Regions from separate parts of the Homo sapiens genome. Here all the other regions are linked to region 4. Evidence: promoter capture Hi-C in 16 types of primary human blood cells and fetal thymus (Javierre and others, 2016). All regions are on one chromosome and are shown on one strand. The core of a region is centred on a gene start or on the middle of the fragment in contact, and the rest is flanking DNA. Distances in the headings are between cores, read along the strand shown.

Region 1 (4,121 bases), core at 66-2,565, 1.2 Mb after region 4:
AAATAGGCATAAAAAAGCTTTTTATCACCTACTTCTTTCTGTGTAAATACCACAAACAAGTAAACAATAACAAAACCAAAACACCTCTTTTCTTTGTATTCCTTACTTGGTTTGTTGAAACATCTTTATCTTTTACTTCCTCTCTACCTTCCCACATTCAATTGGTTTCCAAGTCCTGCAGGAGGTACCTCAGATGTGCTCTCTACCTAAAGGAACTCATAGAGTTTGAGAACCACTGTAGACTGCATTAGGATCACCTAGAACACTTGTTAAATCCCAGGGCACTGGGCCCCATTCCCAGAGTTTCTGATTCAGGAGGTCTGGGCTGCGGCCTTAAAATGTGCATGTCTGAAAGTTTCCAGATGATGCTTCTGCTCTGGGGACCACACTCTGAGAACCTGTGGTCTAGGGTGAGTTACAGATCTCTAATATCACCAAGAACAGGGCAGGCCAGCTGGAATAGCAGCTCTACAGAAGTGACAAGCACAGCAGAAGAAAAGAAAGGAGGGATTTGCTTTGTCTGCGATAAAAAGTAAGGCTTTGGGAGGTTTGCCTTCAGTTGTTCTGGTTCTTCCAATTTGCCTCATTATTCGCTAATTCAATACAATCAATTTATGGTGTAGAAATGCTAATTTTGGGCTACATAGGATTTTGTATTTGAAAACAACTAACGGTTTAAGGGAGGAGGAAATAAGATACAGAAGCAAACAATGCAATAATTTGATTTTTTTCCCTAAACGAGGCGTAAATGATTACAGAAGTCCCCTGATTTATAGTGGCAAAAAACTCGCAACCATCAAGCAGCTGGGGATGGGAACTGTTGGGAAAAACTCAAACTGTGTTTTTTCCTCTGCTCTCATACCACACATCAATAATCATCAACACAAAAGACTTCTGTGACCCCAAAATATGTGGATATTTCTCCCCCCTAGCAAACAAGCAATCAATTCTGCAGCAGACACCAGCTGGGTGTCCTTCAGTTCAGTTCCAACACTATCTACCTGGAGATCATGTCAGATTCCACAGGCAAAGGGCTCAGTCCTCAACATTGCTCCACCGTCTCAGGCACCAGTTGCAAGTTCAGGCCTCTAGAACTTCTGACTGACCGGCTTCAAGTTGGGGTTCTCACAATCCCCTCTTTGGGTTTAATTAATTTGCTAGATTGGCTCACCAGACTCAGGAAACACTTACTTTTGTTTATTGGTTTATTTATTTATTTTGAGATGGAGTCTTGCTCTGTCACCCAGGCTGGAGTGCAGTGGCGCGATCTCGGCTCACTGCAAGCTCCACCTCCCAGGTTCACGCTATTCTCCTGCCTCAGCCTCCCGAGTAGCTGGGACTACAGGTGCCCGCCACCACACCTGGCTAATTTTTTCTATTTTTAGTAGAGACGGGGTTTCACCGTGTTAGCCAGGATGGCCTCGATCTCCTGACCTCATGATCAACCCGCCTCGGCCTCCCAAAGTGCTGGGATTACAGGCGTGAGCCACTGCGCCCAGCCTTTTATTGGTTTATTTTAAAGGATTTTCCTCTTTTTTTTTTTTTTTAAGACAGGGTCTTGCGCATGTGCCCAGGATGGAGTGTAGCAGTATGATCATAGCTCATTGTAACCTTAAACTCTTGGGCTCCAGTGATCCTCCTGCCTCAGCCTCCCAAATAGGTAAGACTACAGGCTCATGCCACCATGCCTGGATAATTTCTTTTATTTTTCATAGAGACGGAGTCTTACTATGTTGGCTGGGCTGGTCTCGAACTCTTGGGCTCATATGACCCTCCCACCTCGGCCTTCCAAAGCGTTACTGGGATTATAGGTGGGAGCCACAACACCTGGCCTATTTTAAAAGATACAAATAAGCAGCTAGAGAAGAGGTACCTAGGGTGAGGTCTGCAAGGGTCCCAAGCACAGGAGTTTCTGCCTTGTGGAGTTGGGGTGTTCCATCTTCCTGGCACATGAATAAATTCTGGTTCACCTTCCTGTCAGCCTGCATGTGTTCAGCTCTCTGAACTCTGCCCTTTTGGGTTTTTATGGAGGCTTTATTACATAGGCATGATTGATTAAACTATTGGCCATTGGTGATCAACTTGACCTTCAGCCTCTCTCCCCTCCCCGGAAGGTTGGGGGGTGGGGCTGAAAGTCCCAACCCTGTGATCATGCCTTTGTCTTTTTAGTGGCCAGTCCCATCCTCAATCTATCAGTCAACAATTGCATATGAAAAAAAAAAAAGCACTTTGGAGATTCAAAGTATTTTAAAAGTTGTATGCCAGGAAAGGGGACGGATACCAAATATATACTTCACAATATCACAGGGGCTCTTTGTCTCTCTGAAAAACAGATCCATTTGGCCAAGACCTTCACCACCCAGAATCACATTTCTTTCCTGGCTCAAAAGTACACACAACATTAACACCTCATCCTCCTCCCTTATATCTCCTCCCCTACTCCCCAGCTTCTAGCCTAAACTAGAATCTGCCCAACAACATCGGAGTCCGTATCCCTTTTCATAAGTCCTTGTAACAAATGATGAAATGTCTAGTCTGCATTCAAATTGCCAGACAAGCAGGGCATGAGAGGGCAGAGAAAAAGTGGAGGAGAAAGCTGTAGCTGGAAGCTTCCTCTGTCTCTCCTGTTCTTCGGGACCACACTCTGCTCCAGTAATTTGCAGAACCCCATAAACATTGGACTCTGCCCTCCTGGCGAGTGTACATCACCACTGTGCCCCCACATCTGGTCAGAGGAGGATGTTTGGCTGTGAGCTGGGACTAATCAGAGTAGCACAAGATGGAGGAAAGCCAGCACTTATTTTCTCACTTCCTCATAGCTTCTGTCCCTCCTCCCTCTTGCCACACTTCTAGACATGCAAGCAAATGTTTCTTCCTAGAAATGGACAACACTGACAAATGAGAGCACAGAGAAGTGTAATTCACAGGATTTTCACAATTGCACAAAACAACATTGTAAGAATACAAATTACAATGTTAGAGAAAAAAGAAACTCTAGAATCCCACCATTTTAATGTTTCCCATAAACCACAGACATTTTTCAAAAAATGGGGCTTCCAGTCCTTATATTTGCACACATATTTGTGATCAGAATATTGATCGAAGGTCCTTGCCCTGGCTGCCCATTTGAATCACTAAGAAATATGGATGTCCAGGTGTTGAGGCTCAGATATATGTACCTCTATTTTGGTTAAATTTTTATTGAAATAAACATATATTATAAATGTGAAGCTAGATAGATTTTCACAAACTGAACAAAACTGAGTGACTAGCTTTCCAGATTCAGAAACAGATTCTCACCAGCAGCTCAAGAGAGCCACTAGGGCCCCTTTCTAGCTACTGCAGCCCAGTGAAAGTTGTCAACATCCTAACTTCTAACATCATGGGTTAGTTTTGTTTGTTTTTGAAACTAAAAAAAAAAAAAATTAAAATAATATCTACTCCTGTGCTAGCTTCCTTCCCTCAATGTTATATGAGATTCACTTATATTTGTTGCAGGTAGTTGTGATTTGTTCATTTTCATTGCTTTATAGTATTTCATTGATTGAATAAACCACAATTTATTTATCCATTTCACTGTTGATGGGCACCTAGGTAGTTAACAATTGATAAATTGGAGCATATTAAAGTTAAGGAACAACAAAATTTAACAAAAGTCACCATTAAAGAGAGGGATATGTGAAGAAAAATATTCTCAATACACATATAAAAAATAAAAGACCTGTACCCCAGTGAGAGGGAATGAATATATAGACAGGAATCCTATGTATTAACCAGTAAAACACAGCTCAATTTTAAAAATACTTGGCACACCTCAGAGAAAATATGCAAATACTCAATAAATATATGCTCAACTTCATTTATGGCTCAGGAAATAAAAATTAAAATATCCACTGGAGTGGTTAAAATTAAAAAGATATAAAATACCAAGCAATGGTATTGAATATGGAACAATGGGGATTCTCATATTGCATTGGTGTGAGTGTTAATTTGTACAACCATTTTGGAAAACTCTTTGGTGATATCTATGAAAGCTCATCACATGCATATCCTGATTTAGCAATTCTATTCTCAGATATACACTTCACAGAGATGCATACATATGTGCCCCAAAAGATAGG
Region 2 (4,534 bases), core at 1,357-3,856, 1.3 Mb after region 4:
GCACAGCAAAAGAAACTATCATCAGAGTGAACAGGCAACCTACAGAATGGGAGAAAATTTTTGCAATCTACTCATCTGACAAAAGGCTAATATCCAGAATCTACAATGAACTCAAACAAATTTACAAGAAAAAAACAAACAACCCCATCAAAAATTGGGCAAAGGATATGAACAAACACTTCTCAAAAGAAGACATTTATGCAGCCAAAAGACACATGAAAAAATGCTCATCGTCACTGGCCATCAGAGAAATGCAAATCAAAACCACAATGAGATACCATCTCACACCAGTTAGAATGGCAATCATTAAAAAGTCAGGAAACAACAGGTGCTGGAGAGGATGTGGAGAAATAGGAACACTTTTACACTGTTGGTGGGACTCTAAACTAGTTCAACCATTGTGGAAGTCAGTGTGGCGATCCCTCAGGGATCTAGAACTAGAAATACCATTTGACCCAGCCATCCCATTACTGGGTATAGACCCAAAGGATTATAAATCATGCTGCTATAAAGACACACGCACACATGTTTATTGTGGCACTATTCACAATAGCAAAGACTTGGAACCAACCTAAATGTCCAACAATGATGGACTGGATTAAGAAAATGTGGCATATATACACCATGGAATACTATGCAGCCATAAAAAATGATGAGTTCATGTCCTTTTTTGTAGGGACATGGATGAAGCTGGAAACCATCATTCTCAGCAAACTATTGCAAGGACAAAAAACCAAACACTGCCTGTTCTCACTCACAGGTGGGAATTGAACAATGAGAACACATGGACACAGGAAGGGGAACATTACACACCGGGGCCTGTTGTGGGGTGGGGGGAGAGGGGAGGGATAGCATTCGGAGATATACCTAATGTTAAATGACGAGTTAGTGGGTGCAGCACACCAACATGGCACTTGTATACATATGTTACTAACCTGCATGTCGTGCACATGTACCCTAAACTGTAAAGTATAATAATAAAAAAAAAAAAAGAACGCTTGTCCTTGGATTTAAGGCCCACCTGGATAATCCAGGGTGGTCTCATCCTGAAGTCCTCCACTTAATTACATCTGCAAAAATGCTTTTTTCCAGGTAAAGTCACATTCACAGGTTCTGGGACATGTGTATATATTTTGGGGGGCCACCATTCGACTACTACACCAACTCCTTTACATACTATGCTCAGAGATAGAAATGGACAGAGGTAGCCTCACAGAGAAACCCGAATTTCAGACTGTTATTTGCTTGCTCTGATAATTTCCTGTCAGTCTTCCTCACCTTTGTCCTGTCACCAGATGTTCTAGATCACAGCCAGATGCCGTGGGGAGATGTGTTTTTCTGTCTATGCTGGGGCCTGATGGCTGAGACATGCTTGGTCTGAAGGATTTTCTGAGGGTGGGGCTGACCCTGCCATACCCTGTGAGTTCAGCTTCTAAGCCGGTTACTTAACATTGGACAAAAATAAATCACTTTGAAAAGGTGACCCAAAATGCTCTCAATAAACAGTAGCTATGATTGTTATTTCAAGGTCTGCCACAATTGATCTGGACAGTCTGCATATAGCCTACACTTGGTGCCAGTTTCTTAAAGAAAGCATCCAGACCACAGAGGCAGCCTTGATATCTCATCACTTTTGCTCTCAGCTTTCTGCACTGCAGATATAGCAGTAAGCATCATTTGTATCTGCAGCCTCTGAAACCCTTCAGTACCTCCTAGGAAACAGTGGTCCCCATTATGGTGTTAAATACCTAGCTTTGGAATATTGGGCTGGGTGCTGTCATGATGGCCAAGTTAGGGTAAAAGTGAAATGAGTCTTCAGCTGCTGCAAGGATGTACTGATGGCTGGATTCCAGCAAGCCCTTTCCCCCTTTGGTGGGTGTTGTTTAGAGTAGTTATGACTGAGATGCGGTGGATGGGTTGGTCATATCTAACAAGCCTCAGGAATGACAAAATGATTCCCTTCTGAGGACCTTTCACTACAGCAATACAGAATGTTTTTGTTTCATCCCAGAGAGATGTTCACAACATTTTATCCAATGAGAAAACCAAATGATAGCAGACTATTTGGACTATAGCAGACTATATAGGATGATATTACATAATGCAATGCCCGGGCCCCATTATGGCATTTTCTTCTCTACTCTATTTTTCTCTATAGCACTTACCTTCATTTATATATGTAATTTATGTGCCTTGTTAACTCCCCCTCTTCCTCTGCACCATGAATGTAATAAGCTCCATGCCCCATAATGCAATAGATACTCAAAACATATTATTAGTTTAATGAAAAAATTAAACCCTAACTCTCTCTGACAATCCTAATCATAACCTCCACATGAAGGAAAAGGACTTAGTCTGGTCTCTAGCCACGAGTCTAACTTTCAGCAGCTAAAAACCCTATTCGCCTCTCCTTAATGTGTTCAAGAACAGCAACGATATCAATATGACTGGGATGTAATGAACTAGGGAGAGGGAAGTCAGAGATACAGTTGGAAGACAATGAAGGTGGATGTTTGTCAAGCTTCTGGACTAACAATTCCACTCTGATTTTCTGGGGGCCTGTTACTCCAGGGCTCCTGATTCCTATTTCCGAATCTTTCAACAGTATCTATGACTGCACAGGGTGTATCTATGTCTGGACAGGGAACAACCTGGAAATGCTTAGGGGAATTCTGTTTGAAGAAAGCTTTTGTTTATTTAACACACATTGTGTTCAGGGACCTAAGCTAGATAATCTTACATTCATCATTTTATTTAACACTGTAAAATTATACATTCCTTACCCATGAAAATGTCCAGTTCATCTGTCTCTTTCATTCCCATACTTCTCTCCCATAGCCTGCAACCAAGCCTCTAATCATCAGCTCCTGTTACTGCTCTCAACAAATTAGGTCACTTATGGCTTTACTAATTTCCCTTTCAACTTAAAATATTCAAGCTTGAATTAGCCAGTTTAGATTGGGTTATGCTGCAGTTACAAAATGACTCCCAAGTCTCAGACACTTACAACCAGAAAAGTTTGTTTGCTCACTCCAGCTACATATTGATCATGGGTAGGCTGTGACCCTTCTCTACATAATTTTCATTCTGGGCCCTTGGTTGGGGGAGTCGCTCCTACCTGGAATACTGGCAGAGGAAAAAAAGTTGGTGTTGAGCTACATCGTGGTTCTTAAAATTTCTGCTCACAAGTAACACCTGTCACTTCTACTCACATTTCACTGGCAATAGCAAGTCACCTGGCTACACTGATATCAATGGGCTAGATATAGCATAATCCTCCCCCAGGGAGGGGCACTGCATATTTTTCAGCAATAATAGAACATACCAAAAGAGCATCCCTGTGGAGGCACACTCACTGTACCTGTCCTCCCGAGCCCTCTTATCCTTCTTCCACACACACTGTGCCAAACACAGAACCTGGATCCATTTCCCCCACGTCTTGACTCTGGCTCTCAGACTGCCCCATGTTATTGGAGGCTCTGCCCTCTCTGATGGTGCCAGTCCACATTCATGCTTGGGTTTTCCTCCTTTGCTGGACCACCATGATGCCCACTCATCTTTTCTTTTTCCCCTCATTAACTCTGATATTTGTCTGTTATTTTCAAGTTCACCCTCACAACATCCCAAGCCCTTCAGTACCTGCAGAAGATGAGCCTCCTGTTTTTTATGGAAAACAGGGGCCTGTAAGTATGAATTCTTCTAAAACTTGTAAACCCTTCTCTGCATTCCTTTTCTCCTCTCTGCTCTGCTTTTCTCCACAACACTTATTTATCATCATTGACATACTTAGCTTATAAATCTTGTATGTTGGTTAAAATTAGGTGTCAACTTGATTGGATTGACAGCTGCCTAGAGTATTGTTCCTGAGTGTGTTTGTGAGGGTGTTGCCAGAGGAGACTGACATTTGAGTTGGTGGACTGGGAAGGAAGACCCACCCTCAAGGTGGGTGGGCACCAGTCAATCAGCTGCCAGAGCAGCTAGAACAAAGCAGGCGGAGGAAGGTGGGATAGGCTTGCTAGTGGAGGCTTCTGCCAGAAGCCTTTTTTTCTTCTTCCCATGCAGGAAGCTTGCTTCCATTCCTCCTGACCTTGGATGTGGGAAAAAGAAAGAGAGATCAGATTGTTAATGTGTCTGTATACAAAGTAGACATAAGAGACTCCATTTTAATCTGTAACCCTACCCCCAAACCTGTGTTCCCTGAGACATGTGCTGTGTCAACAACTCAGGGTTAAATGGATTTAGGGTTATGCAGGATGTTCTTTGTTAAACAAATGCTTGAAGGCAGCATGCCTGTTAAGAGTCATCACCACTCCCTAATCTCAAGTACCCAGGGACACAAAACACTGCGGAAGGCCACAGGGACCTCTGCCTAGGAAAGCCAGGTATTGTCCAAGGTTTCTCCCCATGTGATAGTCTGAAATATGGCCTCGTGGGAAGAGAAAGACCTGACTGTCCCCCAGCCCGACACCCGTAAAGGGTCTGTGCTGAGGAGGATTAGTAAGAGGAAGGAACGCCTCTTTGCAGTTGAGACAAG
Region 3 (4,357 bases), core at 950-3,449, 1.2 Mb after region 4:
TGGTATTTGCACAATTGAAGAAGTAGGCACCTCTTTCAGTCTTTATAAACTGGCTTTGGCAGGGAAAGCCCTTCACCAGTCAGCCTGTCCAAAGATTCTGAGTTCCACAAGTATATGAAAATTAAACAACATGCTACTTAACAATGAATGCATCAAAGAAGAAATTGAAAGAGAAATTTAAAAAAAATCTTGAGAAAAATGAAAATGGACAACAGCATACCAAAACTTATAGAAAGAAGCAAAAGCAGTTCCAAGACAGGAGTTTATACCAATAAACACCTATATCAAAAAAGAAAAAAAGATTTCAGATAAACAGCTTTCTGTTACACCTCAAGGAATTAGAAAAAAGAAAAGCAAACTAAGGCCAAAGTTAGTAGAAGGAAGGAAGTAACAGAGATGAGGGTAGAAATAAATGAAATAGAGACCAGAAAAGCAATAGAAAAGATCAATGCAAATAAGAGTGAGTTTTCTGAAAAGATAAACAAAATCAACAATATTTTAACTAGAGTAAGAAAAAAAGGGAAAAGAATGAAATAAATAAAATCAGAAATGAAAGACAAATTACATCAGGTGCCACAAAAATATAGTGTCATAAGAGACTGCCATGAACAATTATATACCAACAAATCAAAGAACCTAGAATAAATAAATAAACAGCCACCAAGACTGAGTCATGAAAAAATAGAAAATTTGAACAGACCAATAAGGAGGAAAAAGATTGAATCAGCAATAAAAAGAAAAGCCTAGGACCTGATGGCTTCACTGGTGAATTCTACCAAATACTTAAGGAACTAATGTCAATCCTTCTCAAATTTTTCCAAAACATTGAAGCGGAGGGAACACTTTCAAACTCATGTTATGAAGCCAGTATGTTAATACTAAAGTCAGGTCAGAAAACAACAAGAAAATAAAATACAAGCCAATATCCTTGATGAACATAGATGCAGGAATTCTCAGGAAAATACTAGCAAACCAAATTCATCAGGACATTAAAAGGCTCATTCACCATGATTAAGTGGAATTTGTCCCTAGGGTGCAGACTTTTAAATATAAATAAATTAATAAATGTAATATACCACATTCACAGAATAAAGGACAAAAACCATGTGATCATCTCAATAGATTAAAAAAAAGCATGTGATAAAATTCAACACTCTTTTGTGATAAAAACACCCAATAAAGTAGGAAGAGAGAGAAACTACCTAAACATAACAAAGGTCATACATGACAAGTTCACAGATAACATCTTACTCAACAGTGACAAATTGAAAGCTTTTCCTTTAAGATTAGGAACAAGACAAGATTGCCCAATCTCCCCTCTTCCATTCAATATAGTACTAAGCTGGGCATGCTTGTGTACCCCTATAGTTCCAGCTACTTGGGAGGCTGAGATGGAAGAATCACTTGAGCCCAGGAGTTTGAGTCCAGCCTGTGCAACATAGCAAGCCTCCATCTCCAAACGAACAAACAAACAAACAATATATGTAGTACTGGAAGTCCTAGCCACAACAATTAGACAAGAGAAAGAAATAAAATCATCCAAATCAAAAAGAAAGAAGTAAAATTTTCTTTGTTTGCAGATGACATGATTTTATACACAGAAGAATCCTAAAGACACCATCAAAAAACTGTTAGAACCAATAAATTCAATAAAACTGCAGGAGACAAAATCAACATACAAAAGTCAGTAGCATTTCTGCATACTAACAATGAACTATCCAAAATAGAAATCAAGAAAGCAATTTCAATGACAATAGCTGCCAAAACATACATAAGAATAAATTTAACCAAGGAGGCAAAAGATCTGTACATTGAAAACTATAAAACACTGATGAAAAAAATTGAAGAAGATACAAATAAATGGAAAGATATCCTGTGTTCATAGGTTGTAAGAATTAATATTATCAAAATGTCTATGCTACCCAAAGCAGTGTACAGATTCAATTCAATGTCTGCCAAAATTCTGATGATATTATTCACAGAAATAGAAAAAAAAAATCTTAAAATTAGTATGGAAGCACAAAAGGCCCCGAGTAGCCAAAGTCATCTTGAATAAAAAGAACAAAGCCAGGAGATAAATGGAAGATGGATATGGGACAGGGCTGATGTGCAGCACCCACTTGGACAGACACAACAGTGTATAAAGACTCACACCATGGACTTTTGGTTCAGGAACAATAGCAGCACCATAACAGAAAAACTGAAAGAATTCACAGATCCTTTGAAAGAAGTGGCAGTATGCTGTATATTCCATGAGACAGGCAAAAAACCGTGCATTCCCAAAGCGTGAGCGGGGAAAACCTGCCTCTGAATACATGTTGCCACTGGAGAGCCTGAAAATTCAAATCATGAGGAAAGGACTTAACCTTACCTAGAGATTAAACGGATTTAGCATAAAATATAAAAATAGAAGCAGCAGGGGAAGAGCCTTGTAGGCACTCTCGTTCTCCAGCTTGAGCCCAGAGAAGCCATCCCTGACTATATCTCACAGGGAACCTTGGTGAAGGCAGCTGGCAAAATTCGGGAGGGGTCACAGCATGAAAGGAGCTTCCAACTGAACTATGTAATAATTTTGACTGGGTGCAAACTTTCTTGAGCAGAATCTGGGGGTGAACAGGAATTGCCTCAAAGAGTAGAGCAGGAGTTGAGGCAGACAGTGTGGACAGACAGGAAGGGGCATGGCCTGAAAGCCTTGCTTGCTTTCTCAGTGGGGAAACTTATAGTCTGGGGTAAGGTCTGAGTCCTGTGGACAGGCTGCCTGGAGACAAACTTAGCGCTGTTAGCAGGGTACAGTGGAAAAGATACCAGTCTCACCAACACGTGGGAACTGGGTAAGGCCTATCACTAATGCCTTTCCACCACTTCCCTAGCCACGGATGCAGCCATAATTTCCTCTGGAACATAAGCCTATTGGCCCAAGAACTACCCCCTATCCCCCACAGTGGTCACAACAAGCCCCACTCAAGTGTCTGAGCTCAGACCCACCTAACCCTGCTCCCACCTGATGGTATTTCTCTACCTGTCCTGGTAGCGTATCACAAAATATAAACTCTTGGGAGCTTTATGACCCTTCCCATTGCCTGAGAAACCCAAATAGTTACCCTGGTCAACTTAGGGCAAGCTTATATCCACCTTCTACTATCATAGCTGGTGCCCTCTTGAAAGCACCACCTCCTGGCTGGAGGCCAACCAACTCAGATCCTTATAGCAACTCATGACAAAATAAGCCTGATCCCAGGAAGAACAAGGCAACAGCTAATTCCACTGCCCGCAACATCCTGGCTAACCAGAGTGTGTCCTGAGTGTGTCCATGTAACAACTTCACTGCTAGCGTAACAAGTATTTAAGAAGCCAGCACACTAAAAATATCTACAACCGAGGACTGTCACAGAGTCTGCTTCACTCCCCTGCCACCTCCACCAGAGCAGGTGCTGGTATCCATGAATGGGAGACCTGAAGATGGATCACATCACAGGATTGTTTGGAGACATTATCTAGCACCAGCCCAGAGCTCAGTAGCCCAAATGGGTGGCTAGACCAAGAAGAGCAATAAGAATCACTGCAGTCTGGCTAACAGGAAGCCCCATCCCTAGGGAAAGGGGGAACACACCACACCAAGGGACCACTTCATGAGACAAAAGAATCTGAACAGTAGCCCTTGAGTTCCAGACTTTTGTGCAGAAATAGTCTACCCAAATGAGAAGGAATCAGAAAAGTTAGTCTGGCAATATGACAAAACAAGGTTCTGTAACATCCCTAAAAGACCACACTAGTTCCTTAGCAATGGATCCAAACCAAGAAGAAAGCTCTAAATTGCCAAAGAATTCAGAAGGTTGATTATTAAGCTACTCAAGGAGATAACAGAGAAAGGTGGAGACTAACTTAAATTAAAAAAAACAGGATATGGATGAAAAATGCTCCACGTATTATATATATATATATGTATGTGTCTATATATATATGTATGTATATATGTGTATAAGTATATATATGTGTATATATATATTTTTTAAATAACAACTTCTAGTAATGAAAGACAGACTTAGAGAAATACAAAATGCAGTGGAAAGTTTCAACAATAGAATCAAACAAGTAGAAGAAAGAACTTCAGAGCTCAAATACAAGGCTTTTCAAATTAATTCAATCAGACAAAAACAAAGAAGAAGGAATTTGGTAAAAATGAAGAAGGCCTCCAAGAAACTTGGAATTATGTTAAATGGCCAAATCTAAGAATAATTGGTATTCCTGAGGTAGAAGAGAAATCTAAAAGTTTGGAAAACATATTTGAGGGAATAATTGAGAAAAATGTCCCTGGCCTTGCAAAAGATCTAGACATCCAAATACAAGAAGCTCAAAG
Region 4 (4,551 bases), core at 1,069-3,568:
ATGAGCAGGAGTTGTCTATTATTTCCTTTCTCAAATATTATGCTAAGTGTTAGGACAATAATTAGAATGAAGAAAAATCAGTTAAGGTTTTCTCCTAAACTCTCCGGGAGCCCAAAGAATTTCAGTGCCATGTTGACTACATAATGCTTGTATCATGTATTTGTTCTCTTTTAGACATTGCTTTTGAAGCCACTTTTAGCCTCTGTAACAGGTTAGACTCACAGTCATCGTTTTCACCTTGGAATTCAGAAAGCATAAAAGAAAACTGCGTAATCAGTTGCAGCTCAGCTGTCCCCGTTTTTTCCCTTCATGCTTTTGTTCCAATCATCTGCATTTTGAGGGGATACTTTGAACACACACACAACCTCCCATTCTACTGGCTGTTTTGTAACAGATTTAAATATTTGCCCCAAAGCCAGCCTTTGACCAATGGGGCTTCTGATTAAGTTTTCATGTAACTGGTAGAAAGGAGAACATTACAGAGTCAGGAAAAACTTTTCAGGTGATTTAGTCCTTTCTCAATGCTTCAATTAACTGATGATAACGCTCAGTCAACATTTATCGGGCACCTATGATGTTCATTACGGCACTTCATTCTGTTAAAGAATAATAATCTCTTTATCCTTTTAACTCCCGATAATAGCTTTTTACACATAAATTTACAGTTCTTGGAATCAATGTATCTTAACATATCTTAATCATCTTTCTTTTGTAAGGAAGACTTTCTCATTTTAAAGGCTTTGGGTTTTTTTTCTTACAGCAAAATCATTTGGCTTGCGTTGTTAACACGTTAGTTTGAATTTTTTTTTATAAAAGCCAAATATATATAAGCAATGCTTTTCTCTCTGAAAATTTCTCCTGAATCTTAGCTTTTCAACAATTTGCTATTTTGTAGACCATATTCATGATTTGTTTACTCATACACACTTACTAAGGAGATGTTTACTCAGCTCCAAAATTCGTGTTAAGACTAGGACAGGCTCAAATCTATGACAAACAGAATCCCCAAAGAATAACTTTAAAGGTTATGTAAATTTCTGGAGGTATCTTATTATCTTTCTATTAAAATGTCAACATATTCTATACTTTTTCTCCATCCATTCTGGCAAGACACCATGCTATCTTGAGATTAAGCTAAGTCTCCTGGTTCAGATTCAAATCCCTGCTCAATAATCTCTTTATGGCACTCTGGGCAGTGTCTTCATCTGTGAAATCGGGATAATGATTTTATCTACAGTATTGGGTTGCTGTAAGGATTAAATATAAAGCATACAGCATGTGCCGGACATAGAGCTAGCACTCCATCCATGTTAGCGCAGGATTTCTGATTCGTCAGCATCATTACTCAATAACTATCATTCGGCCCTTTTAAATTGTTTCAGCGACGACTGAATGAACTTATTTATAAATGTATAACATAACTAGGGATGAAGTCATACTACATTGAGGTTTCATTTCCACATAGATAATATTAGGAAGCAGCTATGCCAACACTTTTTCTTCCTGTGATCTGTATACTGCAGGGTCTCTAGAAACAATGGTTTGGTTCTTTCCTGGTGACAAAGGATAAGAGAAGATGAAACTGCTACAAATGGCAATAACTTAAAAATAAAAGATACAGAAATATATGGAAATGAAAAACATATACCTATACATACACAGCTGTTTTTAAAACATGACCTTTATTCTCGAAGCTCAAACTTGATTTCCAGGTACAGCAGGCCTCTGTAACTTTTCTTGGCAGTGAAGTCATGAAGTCTCCTGTCCTCTAAAGCTACAGAAATTTAACCTGGAAGCAAGCAGTAGGCACTACGCACAGCACAGAGGGAACCCTGGGGTGTACGCTGTGGCTCCCACCTGTCCGCCAGGTCATTGTGACGCAAACGCTATGGCCACGTGGAACACCTGCCGGAGAGCAGGGGCGGGGTCACTCTGGGCGGCGGATCCGAGCGGGGGATACCCCAGGAGATGGGGGTCGAGGAGAGACCCCGGGGAGTAGAGAGAGAGAAACTCACTCCCCGAGTCCCCGACCCTCCCCAAGCAAGGTGAGGTCAACGCCACCCACCTTCCCCCGGTCACCCTGGGAGGGGTCGCTCCGGCGGGCGTCTGCTGGAGGGTAGAAGCGGGGAAGGGAGGCAGCGGCGGCGCCCAGGCGGCGGTAGGTAGCCGGGCGGCGAGGGCGCCCGCACCCCCCGGCCGCTGCGCTGCGCTGCGGTGCGCACGGGCTCCGCCGGTTGCTATTCCGGCTGGTGGCGGCCGCCGCAGGAAGGGCCGGTTCCTGCGCTCCCCCCGCCCCTTTCCCTCGCCTTCGGCTGACGCTGACGTCGGATGAGTGATCCGGAGGGACGCTCCGACCGCGGCCGGGAGGCTCCTGGGGGCCGGGGCTCCGAGGTACCTGCCCTCCGGGGTCGGGGCGGGGGCGCGCCGGGCGGGCTGCAGGAAGCAGCAGGAGACGCCCGGCAGCCGGGACGGTCGGGGACGCCTGGTAGGAGCTGCCTTCTCTGCCCTCCGCGGGCGGCGCGTGATAGGCGAGTCGCCTCCTCGGGTCCCGGATCCCGGTGCGGGAACCGCATCAGCCCCTTCCCCTCCCCTCCTCCCTCCGGCCTGGGAAGGTCTGGAGGATGCGCGCGCCGTGAGAGCGTGCGTCAGCCCCGGGGGAGCGGTAGGGAAGCGTTCCGCGCTCCGGCCCCAGCGCTGGGAGCACCGGCACCCATGCCAGCCCACCCCACCCACCCACCGCGCGCCTCGCCTTCCCGGCGGCTCCGGCCCCAGGACCCCGAGCTCCCTGGTGGGCAGGGACTTGCGTCCAGGGTTGACTTGTTGACAAGTTCACCTGCCGCGGCGCCTGGTGTGTGCTTTTTCTCTTCCCCTCCGTGGCCCTTTTTTTGGCAGGGGCGGCAGAGAGCATATGGGTACCTCTTTATAACCACTAGTGCCAGGAGGCCTGAGCTTGGTCCCCCGGGGGCGAGGTGCTCAGCAGTCTCGGACTAGACGGGGCGAGAACCCCTAAGCAACCCCGGTTCCAGCAAACCCTGGCGCGCCCGTTTCCTTTGGGCGCTGCTGACTCCGCCTTTCCTGCTCCGGGGCTATTGCAGCTCCTGCTTCCTCTAGAAACGAACATATCCTGTTGTTATGTCTGCCTTTCCCCCAAAGCGGCTCTCCAGGAACCTTTCCCACTGTCTTTTTACTTGTAGTACCCCCAAAGCACCTGAGCTTCTCTTTGGGGTCTTAAAAGTATCGCGCCCTTATTCTGGCGAAGGGCATTAACTGCCTGGTTGGGGAGAGTTAGTTTGGAAAGAATCGCGTTCTCTTCATTTAGATGGCATTAAAAAATTAGCGCAAGAAAGGGTTTTGTTCATGAATCTTAGTAACCGAGATCTGGTAACGGTATAAAAATTATCAAGGCCTGGAAAATATGTCACCAGCTTGCTTGGGAGTGATACTGAATGTAGGAAGAAAGACACATAAGGCATTTATTGGCCATTAAGGTCCTATAAAATATGACTCATCGCAAACATGTTTTTGTCCATACGTTTCAGTGAAGTCTCTTCGGAAAATCTCAAATTGGTTTCTGTGGCCCTCTGGTTTGAATCTGAGATCTGAACTGTTCTGTGGTTAGGGAGTGAAATAAGAAATGCTTAGTTTGAAATCTAGGCTCCCGATGCAATTTCATACCCCCTGTTTAAAACACACACTCTCTAAAAATGCTTTTAAGTAAGTTTTCAAACCAAAGATATATTTTTAGATTTCAGTCTTTATTTTTGAAACACCCTTTGTAGAGAATACCACAGGGACAAAATCAATTTATAATCCTGAATAGCTCAAATATCACTCTTTGGTTTTATACTAATACTGTACATACATCTTAATTGCAGGAGATGTTGCTTTCTAATTGTTTCTGTTTGTATTACAAAGGGAAATAATTGTACTGTTTATAAAGATGAATCTTTAGAAAACGTAACAGTTAAGCTACAGCGGGCTATTTGTGGAGAGACCTGATGTTAAAAAACGTTAACCCTGTATCCTCCACCCGTGGATCATTGAGTGCTAAAGATACTGGATGGTAATTGCCTGGGTGGTTTATTTTGTAACTATTTTCCCCCATTTGGAACACCTGAGTAACTATCTGACTGCTTTCTCTACGCATCTTTACCGCAGTGCATAAAGATCAATCTCACGAAAAGTATAGAAAATTTTGTTACTCAGAGCCTTCAAAATCAGTACGTTTTCAAGGTATTTGACTAAATAGTACATTTTTTTCAGGTGCAAGCAGCATTAGCGGTATGGAGGTCTGGTAGTTATGCCATAACGTAGAAGGATAAACCTATGTTTGGTATGAACTTTTAAGATTATAGAAACCTCATGCGAGAGAGGGAGGAAGTTAACAGGCCCCAAGTGTCAGGATGAATTTTTCCTCTTCGTTGGTTGAGCCTGAGGGTAGGTGGCAGTGTTTATAATCAGCACGCTGGTCACTAGTGTCCTTTTTTTCCATCTGCATTACTAGATTTATGGGAACCATTAATAAGGATGCTATCTGCATGTTTTGTCCAT
Region 5 (4,648 bases), core at 799-3,298, 1.2 Mb after region 4:
AGTTTGCAGTGAGCTGAGCTCATGCCACTGCACTCCAACCTGGACGGCAGAGTGAAGAAACTCTGTCACAAAAAAACAAAAAACAAAACAAATCTATGTAAACACCATGATATGTGACATGTCAGGGTAAGAGGAACAACTAATAAATTTTGTAGACATTCAGTAAATGGAGAGAAAGGTTTTTGGAGATGAGGAGCTTGAGCTAGACCTTGTATGTGTGCTATTAGAAGCTTTCTGGGCTGGACACATATAAAAACTGCCCTTTGATGCTAATAGTATTAAAATTCTGTCTCCTCAGAAGCAGACTGCCTATTGCTTTCGCTTTTAAAGAGATTTAGATCCAAGCATTCCATTATGCAAGCCATAGAAAGACCGTTTTATGTGAAGATGCACTTTGATTGCACTTTCCTCTATCTACATTTTATTGTAGTTAGTTGTTTAGAGCTCTCTCTGTGTAGAGTGTGGGATCCTTGAGGTCCTTAAGGGAAGGGACCTTGCTTGCCCTCTTTATCCCCTGCATACTTTGCGTAAAGGAGGCACTCCACAAATGTTTACTGAATAAATGCTACACTCCTAATGGGTAAGAATGTGTCATATTATTCTTTGTTTTCTTATGTGCACTGAAACGAATTGTTTCTTGAGATTGGTTCTTAGAATATTTATTCAGTTTTCACTGATTCTTTTGCTACAGGTTAGCTAACCATGTAGCAGATGCTTGAGTTTCACCTTTCTCCAGTCCAGCAGAATTATATTTTGATGACCTCCATTTTGATGCTTGTAGACCAGCTCTAATCCAAAGATTGATCTTTAGGTAACAGATGGAGAGTGATAAGGATAACTTCTGTGAAGACAAACCCATGCACACATCCTGTTGTCCGAATAATGTTTAAATGAATCCTTCTGCTCCCAAGCCATCAACTTGCCCCTTAACACACATCTTTCTAGAGCCCAAATTTGAGCTCCTTGTAGAAGATCTTTGCCCTCTTCACTCTCCAGGCCTTCCTAATTAACGTCTTCTCAGAGTTTACCTTCTCTCTGTCTTAATCATTAGTTAAAAGAAAAAGTGGCTGGTGTAGCATCTGGGGATACATTGCCACACCCATTTCCTTCTCTATGATCAGGATTTCCAATTTCCAAGCCTGATGGGCTCTCCCAGCTGGAACAGGATCTACAGGTCTTTGATCTGGAAACTAAGACTAGAGAAGTCTTAAGAGATGACTTCTCAGGTGAGGAAGGCAGAATCAATCAGATGGAATTAGTAGGGAAGTAAAGTTCAATTGTTGAGCCAAGTTGTAGCTGCTTTGGCACTCAGAATGAAGAGTTCTGTGTGTGTCCCAGCATGGAGAGTTATTTTCTTTTTCCTTCAGTTAGGTTGACCCTTTCCATTTGTTTAGGACCTGTGCACATGTTGTACTGGACCGCTAATCAAGTTGCTTATCTAAAATTCTTTCAAACTCTTTCCCTATTATCTCCTTAACTGGTGTCTTCTTACTTTGCTAAAGATGTCCGCTGTTTTACCTCACTGCTCCTGTTCATGCCCTTACTTCTGCTGTTGAGATTTTGAGCCTGTTTTTCAGCATAAATAAACTTTTCTTGTCCTTGTAGATATTACATTGTTCAGTTTTCTCATCTGAGTTTTCTTTTCCTAAGCACAGGGTACAGATTACATTTGTATCTTCTATTTATATATTGTATCAGATGGAGAGACCAGAGAACAAGCTGTTGATTCCTAAGGAGAAAATTTCAGAAGAAGTACATTCATGCAAAGTGATAGTAGGAAGACTCAAACACAATATTACCTAAGTTCCTGAGACTAGAGAAGTGTATAAGTCTGAGGACAGATTAGAAAGGCTTCAGGAAATTCTAAGGAAATTCCTGTACCTGGAGAGTTTAGGCAAATAACAATCAGCAAAGAAGCCTTCACCAGTGAGAAGAACAATGAATGTAATAAACCTGAAAAAAGCTTCAGTCTGGACTCTACTATTGATGCAGATCAGAAAGTTCTTAGAATACAGAACACTGATGATAATGATAAGAACGACATGAGCTTCAGCCAGAATTCAGCCTCTGGTAAACATGAACACATAAATCTAACACAGGATTTTCAGAGTAGTATATGTAAGGAAAGCTTAATGGATCTCTCCCTCCTTAATAAATGGGACAGCATCCCTAACACTGAGGAATCCTATAAATGTGATGTATGTGAGAAAGTTTTCCATCAGAGCTCAGCCCTTACTAGACATCAGAGAATCCATACTAGAGAGAAGCCCTACAAATGTAAAGAATGTGAAAAGCGTTTCAGTCAGAGCTCGAGTCTTAGTCGACATAAAAGAATACACACTAGAGAAAAACCTTACAAATGTGAAGCATCTGATAAATCCTGTAGTCCAAGCTCAGGCATAATTCAACACAAGAAAATTCACACCAGAGCCAAAGCTTACACATGTAGCAGTTGTGAAAGAATCTTCAGTCATAGTGTCCACCTTACTCAACATCAGAAAATTCACAAAGAGATGCCCTGTAAGTGTACTATATCTGGCAGTGACTTCTGCCATCCTTCATATCTGCTTGAACATCAGAGGGTCCACCATGAAGAGAAATCCTATGAATATGATGAATATGGGTTGGCCTATATTAAACAAGGAATTCATTTCAGAGAAAAGCCCTATACATGTAATGAATGTAGAAAAGACTTCAGATTGAATTCACATCTTATTCAGCATCAAAAAATTCACACAGGAATGAAACTGCATGAGTGTAATGAATATGGAAAAGCTTTCAGTCAAACCTCATGCCTTATTCACCATCAAATAATGTATAGGAAAGAGAAATCATATAAATGTAACGAGTATGAGGGCAGTTTCAGTCATAGCTCAGACCTTATCCTGCAACAAGATGTCCTCACCAGACAGAAAGTCTTTGATTGTGATGTACGGAAAAAGAACTCCAGTCAGAGAGCACACCTGGTTCAATATCGGAGCATTCATACCAAAGAGAACTCATGAATATAACGAGGGTGAGAAGACATTTAGTCTAGTCAAATTCAGGCTTCATTCAACATCCGGGAGTTCACACCAGGGAGAAATCATGTACGTACTGCATGTGGTAAAGCCTTCAGTCATAGCTCAACCGTTACTCAGCATCAGATAATTCAATTTTCATGCTATTAATAATTTCATACCTTAGTCACATTTGGAGAATTCGTATGGGAATAAAATTCCATTACTGCAATGAATGTGAAAAAGCCATCAGTCAAAGAAACTACCTTGTTTAGTATCAAATTCATGCCATGCAAAAAGATTATGAATGTAATAAATGTGTATGTGCACGAGGAGATTCAGTCACAACCCAACGCTCATTCAACATCAAAGAATCTATATCTAAGAGAAGTTATGTGAGTGTAGTGAATGGCAAATCTTTCAATAGGAGTTTAACTAGTCTTTTTTATATCAGAATATCCATAGTAGACAAGAATTTGATGTAATGCAAATGGAAAACTTGACAGCACATGTCAGGCTTTACCCAACATCAAAATAGTGGAAAGAAAATTGTTGATTATTTATTTATGAAATTGTTAATACATAGTCTCAAACTTTATCATTGCACAAGAATCTAGTGGTGACTTGGTAAATGCAGTGCCATTTTCTCATGGCATTCCTTTATTTAATATGTGTTCTAAGTAGGTACATTTATTTTTACTTTTTTATTATAATAATTTTGATATTAAAAAGAACAGAGATGGGGTCTCACTTTGTTGCCCAGGCTGGTCTCGAACTCCTGGCCTCAAGTGATCTTCTCACCTTGTCCTCCCAAAGTGCTGGAGTTACAGGCATCAGTCACTGTGCTAGGCCTATTTTATTTACAGAACTAATTTAAGCTGTTTTTATTTTAATATGCCCTATAAACATTTTTATTTTTCTTGAAATTGGTTCTTAGTGTTCACAACTTCCATAAGATACTGCGAATGCACCAGTATTAAAACACATCAACATAAGTAGCTCATTTAGCTTTTTCTGCTGTTCTTGGCCCAAGTTCTCTCCAAAACCAACTCTTAGGCCTACTCTTTACTAGGGACCCTATGTTATTGCTTTACAGCCACAACACTTGGATGCCTGTTTATTGATTTCTCCATGCTCTTAAGCACCTTTAGAAGATTTAGAAGATTCCTAGTTTTAAGTGTCTCACCAGCAAGTATTCCATACCTAGTTGATGTTGCTGGTCTGATGTCTTATTTCCTAAAGTGAGGCATCTTTTTTAAAAAAGAATTGGATTTAAAATATATCCAGTCCAATACAAGTATGAATATAAGTAAGTGTTCTCTCTTCTGAGTTTGTAGCAGGCAGCCAAACATTTTCAAACGATGCCCAAGATTTTAGTTGCCTTGTGTGCATCCACAGCCTGCAAAGAGAGATGATAAGGACATCAGGGAGCCAACAAGACTCCTGGTAAGCTCACTACATACATCCAGTGCCTGTTCTGCATGCCTAAGCTTAGAGTTCTTTTATAGACCTCTAAGGCCAGCAAAATGCTCAGGTCTGCTTTTGGTACGGTAAACACAAAGAACATACACAGGCTGGGTGCGGTGGCTCACATCTGTTATCCCAGCACTTTGGGAGGTTGAGGCGGGTGGATCACGAGGTCAGGAGGT
Region 6 (4,193 bases), core at 1,158-3,657, 1.2 Mb after region 4:
TCAGCTGTTTAAAGACAAATAGAAAGGAAGAGAAAGGAAGCCTGCATTCCCTTGGGCTCCCTCTGCATATTTTAGGCATGAGTCAGCTCCCAGGGCTGGCATTTGTCCCTCCATTAACAGCTAAGTTCCCTATGTCTCCAGACAGACAGCTCTCGAAATAGCCAATGCCTGGGCAAATGACCTGCAAGTGGGAGGGGACAGTCAGAGAATGCCAGTTCTTGTTGATCCTGTGGGGTGGGAGTGGGGATGGACAGCTTTCAGCCTTCAGTTAAGATAGGAAGTGGAGGAGAACATTCTCCCCTGGTTCTCACTTTAGAGAGAAGAATCAATCCTTATGGCATTAACGTTTTGGATTTTTTGGTTTTAACATGTCTCAAACCTATCCACTCAATATAGCTCATTTTACTCCAGGGAAATTTTTAACATGTCATCTCAGCCAACCTACATTCACCTAGCAATACTTAGATAAATGTTATGGTATACACAGACAAGAAACTAGAACACAAAGCTAGGAAATTTTTTCATTTTCATTTTGTAATGTCTATTCTCTGCAATATGGAAAAAATTGCACCAGTTAGGTTTTCAGCCTAAAGCAGTGATTTGAAAACTTTATGTAAGAATCCGCTGAAAGTTTTTAAAAAGTTCTAATGCCAGGCCTCCCCCAAGCCAATCCTGTTAAAATCTATGGGGGTAAGCATCAATATTTCTAGATTTCCCCAGGTATTTCCCATGAACAGCCAAGGCAGAGAACCACTAATGAGTATCGTTTACACAAGTAATGACAGACAGGTGTCTCCATTGAATTCATGGTGTATTCATTGCCATTATCAGTTAGCCCTCTAAGAGTGTTGATTTGATTATCATGATGGTATTTATGGAGCCTAATACAATCATAATCATTGTGAAGCAAGCTAGGACAAGAGTCATGTGGGAGGCAGAGGTTTCATGAACCAGAGGGTAACTTCTATCAGTCATCAAACCTGAAGGAGCCCAAAGCATTGATCAAAGTCAGAGGTACTGGGCCCTGAATTCAGAGAAATGGAGGATGGAAGCAAAAGTAGTGGATCTGGTATAAATGGGGAGTAAGCCAGGGAAATTTTCTTGAATCATTTATCTCTGCAACTAGATCTTGTGGGCCAGATGCAATAGGATACTTGGGAGGGCCTGCTGTGTTTAAACAAAGAGGAACAACAGTAAATAAACTCCCAAATTCTTTTAGTCCCTGATGTGATGATTTTTAGAATGATTTTTTTTCTAGTCAAGAGATTATTATCCTTTTGTCAACAGAACAATCACATTCATTCATCAAATGTGTTGAGTGCTTTTTCTGTGCTAGGTATATCACTAGTTGCTAAGGATACAGAGATTAAATAAGAGACAATCTTATATCTGCCAGAATCCATAACCTAGATGTGGAAAAGGATGCATAAATTGAAATCTTTTAAATAAAATGTGGCAAAAAACTATGCCAGATCAAAGTTCCATGGATATAGTGTTAACTTTAACGATATTAAAGTTCATTGATTTCATTTTTCTTCTTCCATTTTCTATACTCTGGACTTGTGTTTTTTGCATATGATGTAAACTCATACTCTATGGGTTTGCCTTGTTTTTGTCATTTGGGAGAGGCACAGAGTGAGCTATAGGAAAGCTATGAAGGGGCTTGAAACTCACACCGTTATGATCAATTAGTGCAGTTTCAAAAAGCCCGGTCTTGAACATGCTTAGCTGGCTTGTCTTCTTAGCTCTTATGTAATCTTTAAGTCACTTAACTTCCTGAAGAGGAATTGAGTTTTCTTGTTGACCTGTAAAAATAGCAAAAATTATGACTTAATTGCAGAAAACTCCAGACTCTGACATTTGAAAGACTTATTTTTCCTACACGTATAAATCAAGGTTACCTGCTCTGAATTTTGTAGCCTTAGTATTCTAATAGGGTTCTTGTACAATTTTTGCTAAATAAAGCATTCAGACTCCATGACTGTTCAAAGCCATCTCTGATGGTAGTTGTACACCTTTGCCAAATATTAACCCATAAATACGGTCTCATTTTGTTTAACAAGAGAGAATAATGCATCTCCCTAAGTTTTGAACTCATTAATTCCCCAGGCATTCTAGCTAAAAAGCATACTTATTTTTTTCTTTGATAAGTCACATGCCTGTGTCTGTCAGTTCAATAATTTATATAGAACAGGGAGTTTTAAGCATGGTTATTTCACTGTTGATGATCATCAATAAATTCATCACATTGTGGGGGAATTTTCATAAAATTGCTTATATCTTGTCTTGATTATTTCTTACTTTGTGACTCAATGATTGGGAACCAGCTGTGAAAGTTGATCACACAAATTGGGTCATTCTTGTTATACTCAACTAAATCAGAGTTGAGGAACCAGGGGGAAAATGCACTCAGGGCATATCATATTGCTCCAAGAATGTAATTCTCTGCAAACCTGGCTGCCGAAACTGCCTGTTTTAACGTGAACCAGTTTTAATATAATAGCTACAGAAACAGCCTGCTGTAACTCTACAACTAGTTTCAGCCACCACCATCGTTCACCAACCAGAGCTTGCCAGCTATCCAAAACCTTACTAGTGCCAATGAAATTACTTTCAAAATAATATGTAACATTTGTCCTTTTTATAAAAGCCTCCAACCTTCTCTTTTTTCTTTGGACATACTAAAGGCCAGCCAGTCTGTGGGTATGTGCTGAATCCAATCTTTGCTTCCCAAATAAAATGTTTTAAATTTAGAGATTAGTCTTTATATTTTATCTGACTTCAACACAGCTATGGGCTGATCTGTAGAACTCAATATAGAAATCTACTGTCCTGGTCAAGACTGGTAGAAATACTCTCTTTACAAATCATATCTGTGTTAATTTTGAATCTGCAAGTGAGTAAAATAGGAATTTGCTCTCTCATCTCTTGGAAATTTGATCCAAATCTATAGACATTGTGGTCGGAGAACAGTGAATGCATGAAGAGAATGGTCCCATAAAGTTGAGATCGAGGAGCCATTTTTTGCCGTGAGCTTTCTAACGAGTAAGAAAAACTTGTCTTTAGAGAGAGACTGAAGAGTAGAGCAGACAGTACAGAGGTGAGGAGAGGAGAGGCTGTGTGACTCTGGAGAAATGAACGGGGAAAACCTCCTTGAACCTCACTCTAGTTTTCCAAGTCTTGTGAAGCCAGACTGGGCTTTTGGCTCTGTGCAATTCCTCTGTATCTTCTCAATAAACCCTTTGTATTCGTGTTTACTCAATGGGGATTCTATTCCATTCGCTAAAATAAGCCTGAAATTAAACCTGTTGTTTCATTGCATCTGCTTCATTCATATCTCTTATATTCGTTGCAGTTTTTTTTTCCAGACACCATTCTCCTATGGCCTTTTCCTATGGTTTCTCTCTCCTTTCCTTGGACAAAGTAGTTCCAGTTGCAGTTTTGACATAATAGAGGGACAGAAGGCCTTCCAGTCTATTCTGGAGGCATCTGGCACTGCTAGCTCACCTGGGGCCAGGCAGGGCTGCGGCCAGCCCATGATGTGCCTTTGTGTGTACTTTTAAAAGGTACCCCTTCCTCTAGGTGGACTAAGGCCCACACAGAGCATAGGGCTTTCAGGCAGAGCACAGGCTGAATTCAGCCACTCTTCTTCCTTGACTGGGCACCCTTGACAGGTATAATCTTCACAATCTTATGTGGTGGCCGAGTCATGGACCCATACATATCCTCCAGGCAGTTGAGAAAGAAAAAAAAATCCACAAATTAGAGAAAGTGACCCCAGCAGAGTCAATGTAGTCGCAAATGTCAGGCTAACAGGAAACAGCAAAAGCAATATACGTCCTCCTTCTTCTCTAAGTGCTGTGGCTGGTGGCCTTAAAAATATAGATTTTCCTTCTTTTCCAATAAACAAAAATTAAGGCCAGGTGCAGTGGCTCACACCTGTAATCCCAGCACTTTGGGAGATCAAGGTGGGTGGATCACAAGGTCAGGAGTTCGAGACCAGCCTGGCCAAAATGGTGAAACCCCGTCTCTACTAAAATACAAAAATTAGCTGGACATGGTGGTGTGCGCCTATAATCCCAGCTACTCAGGAGGCTGAGGCAGGAGAATTGCTTGAACCCAGGAGGTGGAGGTTGCAGTGAGCTGAGATCACGCCACTGCACTCCAGCCTGGGTGACAGAGTGAGACTCTGT

What was found. Contacts are between HindIII fragments. The CHiCAGO score rates a contact against its expected background, and 5 or more counts as called.
Region 1: a fragment that was not itself captured here is called in contact with the fragment with the promoter of ICA1 in region 4 in 1 of 17 cell types (naive B cells); the score reaches 6.3 in naive B cells.
Region 2: a contact is called between a fragment that was not itself captured here and the fragment with the promoter of ICA1 in region 4, in 2 of 17 cell types (naive B cells and total B cells). The highest score is 9.2, in naive B cells.
Region 3: a fragment that was not itself captured here is called in contact with the fragment with the promoter of ICA1 in region 4 in 3 of 17 cell types (total B cells, non-activated CD4 T cells and naive CD8 T cells); the score reaches 6.1 in total B cells.
Region 5: a contact is called between a fragment that was not itself captured here and the fragment with the promoter of ICA1 in region 4, in 3 of 17 cell types (total B cells, total CD4 T cells and activated CD4 T cells). The highest score is 6.3, in total B cells.
Region 6: a fragment that was not itself captured here is called in contact with the fragment with the promoter of ICA1 in region 4 in 3 of 17 cell types (naive B cells, neutrophils and total B cells); the score reaches 8.8 in naive B cells.

What each region holds. Positions count from the first base shown.
Region 1 is chr7:7,050,070-7,054,190 of GRCh38, reverse strand. The region is part of intron 1 of LOC105375138 (a long non-coding RNA gene); the gene reads right to left. Among named protein-coding and RNA genes, the nearest start is that of MIR3683, 15 kb to the left of the region's middle. The HindIII fragment of the contact is 2,592 bases long and covers 20-2,611 here.
Region 2 is chr7:7,002,260-7,006,793 of GRCh38, reverse strand. The region is part of intron 1 of LOC105375138 (a long non-coding RNA gene); the gene reads right to left. It overlaps LOC124901585 (a long non-coding RNA gene), which reads left to right and starts at 3,606. Exons shown (of 2, transcript XR_007060204.1): 1 at 3,606-3,683. RefSeq lists an enhancer at 4,033-4,534. The HindIII fragment of the contact is 165 bases long and covers 2,524-2,688 here.
Region 3 is chr7:7,031,262-7,035,618 of GRCh38, reverse strand. The region is part of intron 1 of LOC105375138 (a long non-coding RNA gene); the gene reads right to left. Among named protein-coding and RNA genes, the nearest start is that of MIR3683, 34 kb to the left of the region's middle. The HindIII fragment of the contact is 1,849 bases long and covers 1,275-3,123 here.
Region 4 is chr7:8,259,934-8,264,484 of GRCh38, reverse strand. It overlaps ICA1 (islet cell autoantigen 1), which reads left to right and starts at 2,318. Exons shown (of 14, transcript NM_001136020.3): 1 at 2,318-2,391. ICA1-AS1 (ICA1 antisense RNA 1) reads right to left here and starts at 2,260. Exons shown (of 6, transcript NR_125740.1): 1 at 2,066-2,260; 2 at 1,659-1,905. The HindIII fragment of the contact is 9,065 bases long and covers 1-4,551 here.
Region 5 is chr7:7,076,652-7,081,299 of GRCh38, reverse strand. The region is part of intron 1 of LOC105375138 (a long non-coding RNA gene); the gene reads right to left. It also overlaps the pseudogene LOC100131257. Among named protein-coding and RNA genes, the nearest start is that of MIR3683, 12 kb to the right of the region's middle. The HindIII fragment of the contact is 165 bases long and covers 1,966-2,130 here.
Region 6 is chr7:7,095,602-7,099,794 of GRCh38, reverse strand. It overlaps LOC105375138 (a long non-coding RNA gene), which reads right to left. Exons shown (of 5, transcript XR_927009.3): 3 at 1,677-1,805. It also overlaps the pseudogene LOC100131257. Among named protein-coding and RNA genes, the nearest start is that of MIR3683, 31 kb to the right of the region's middle. The HindIII fragment of the contact is 5,178 bases long and covers 1-4,193 here.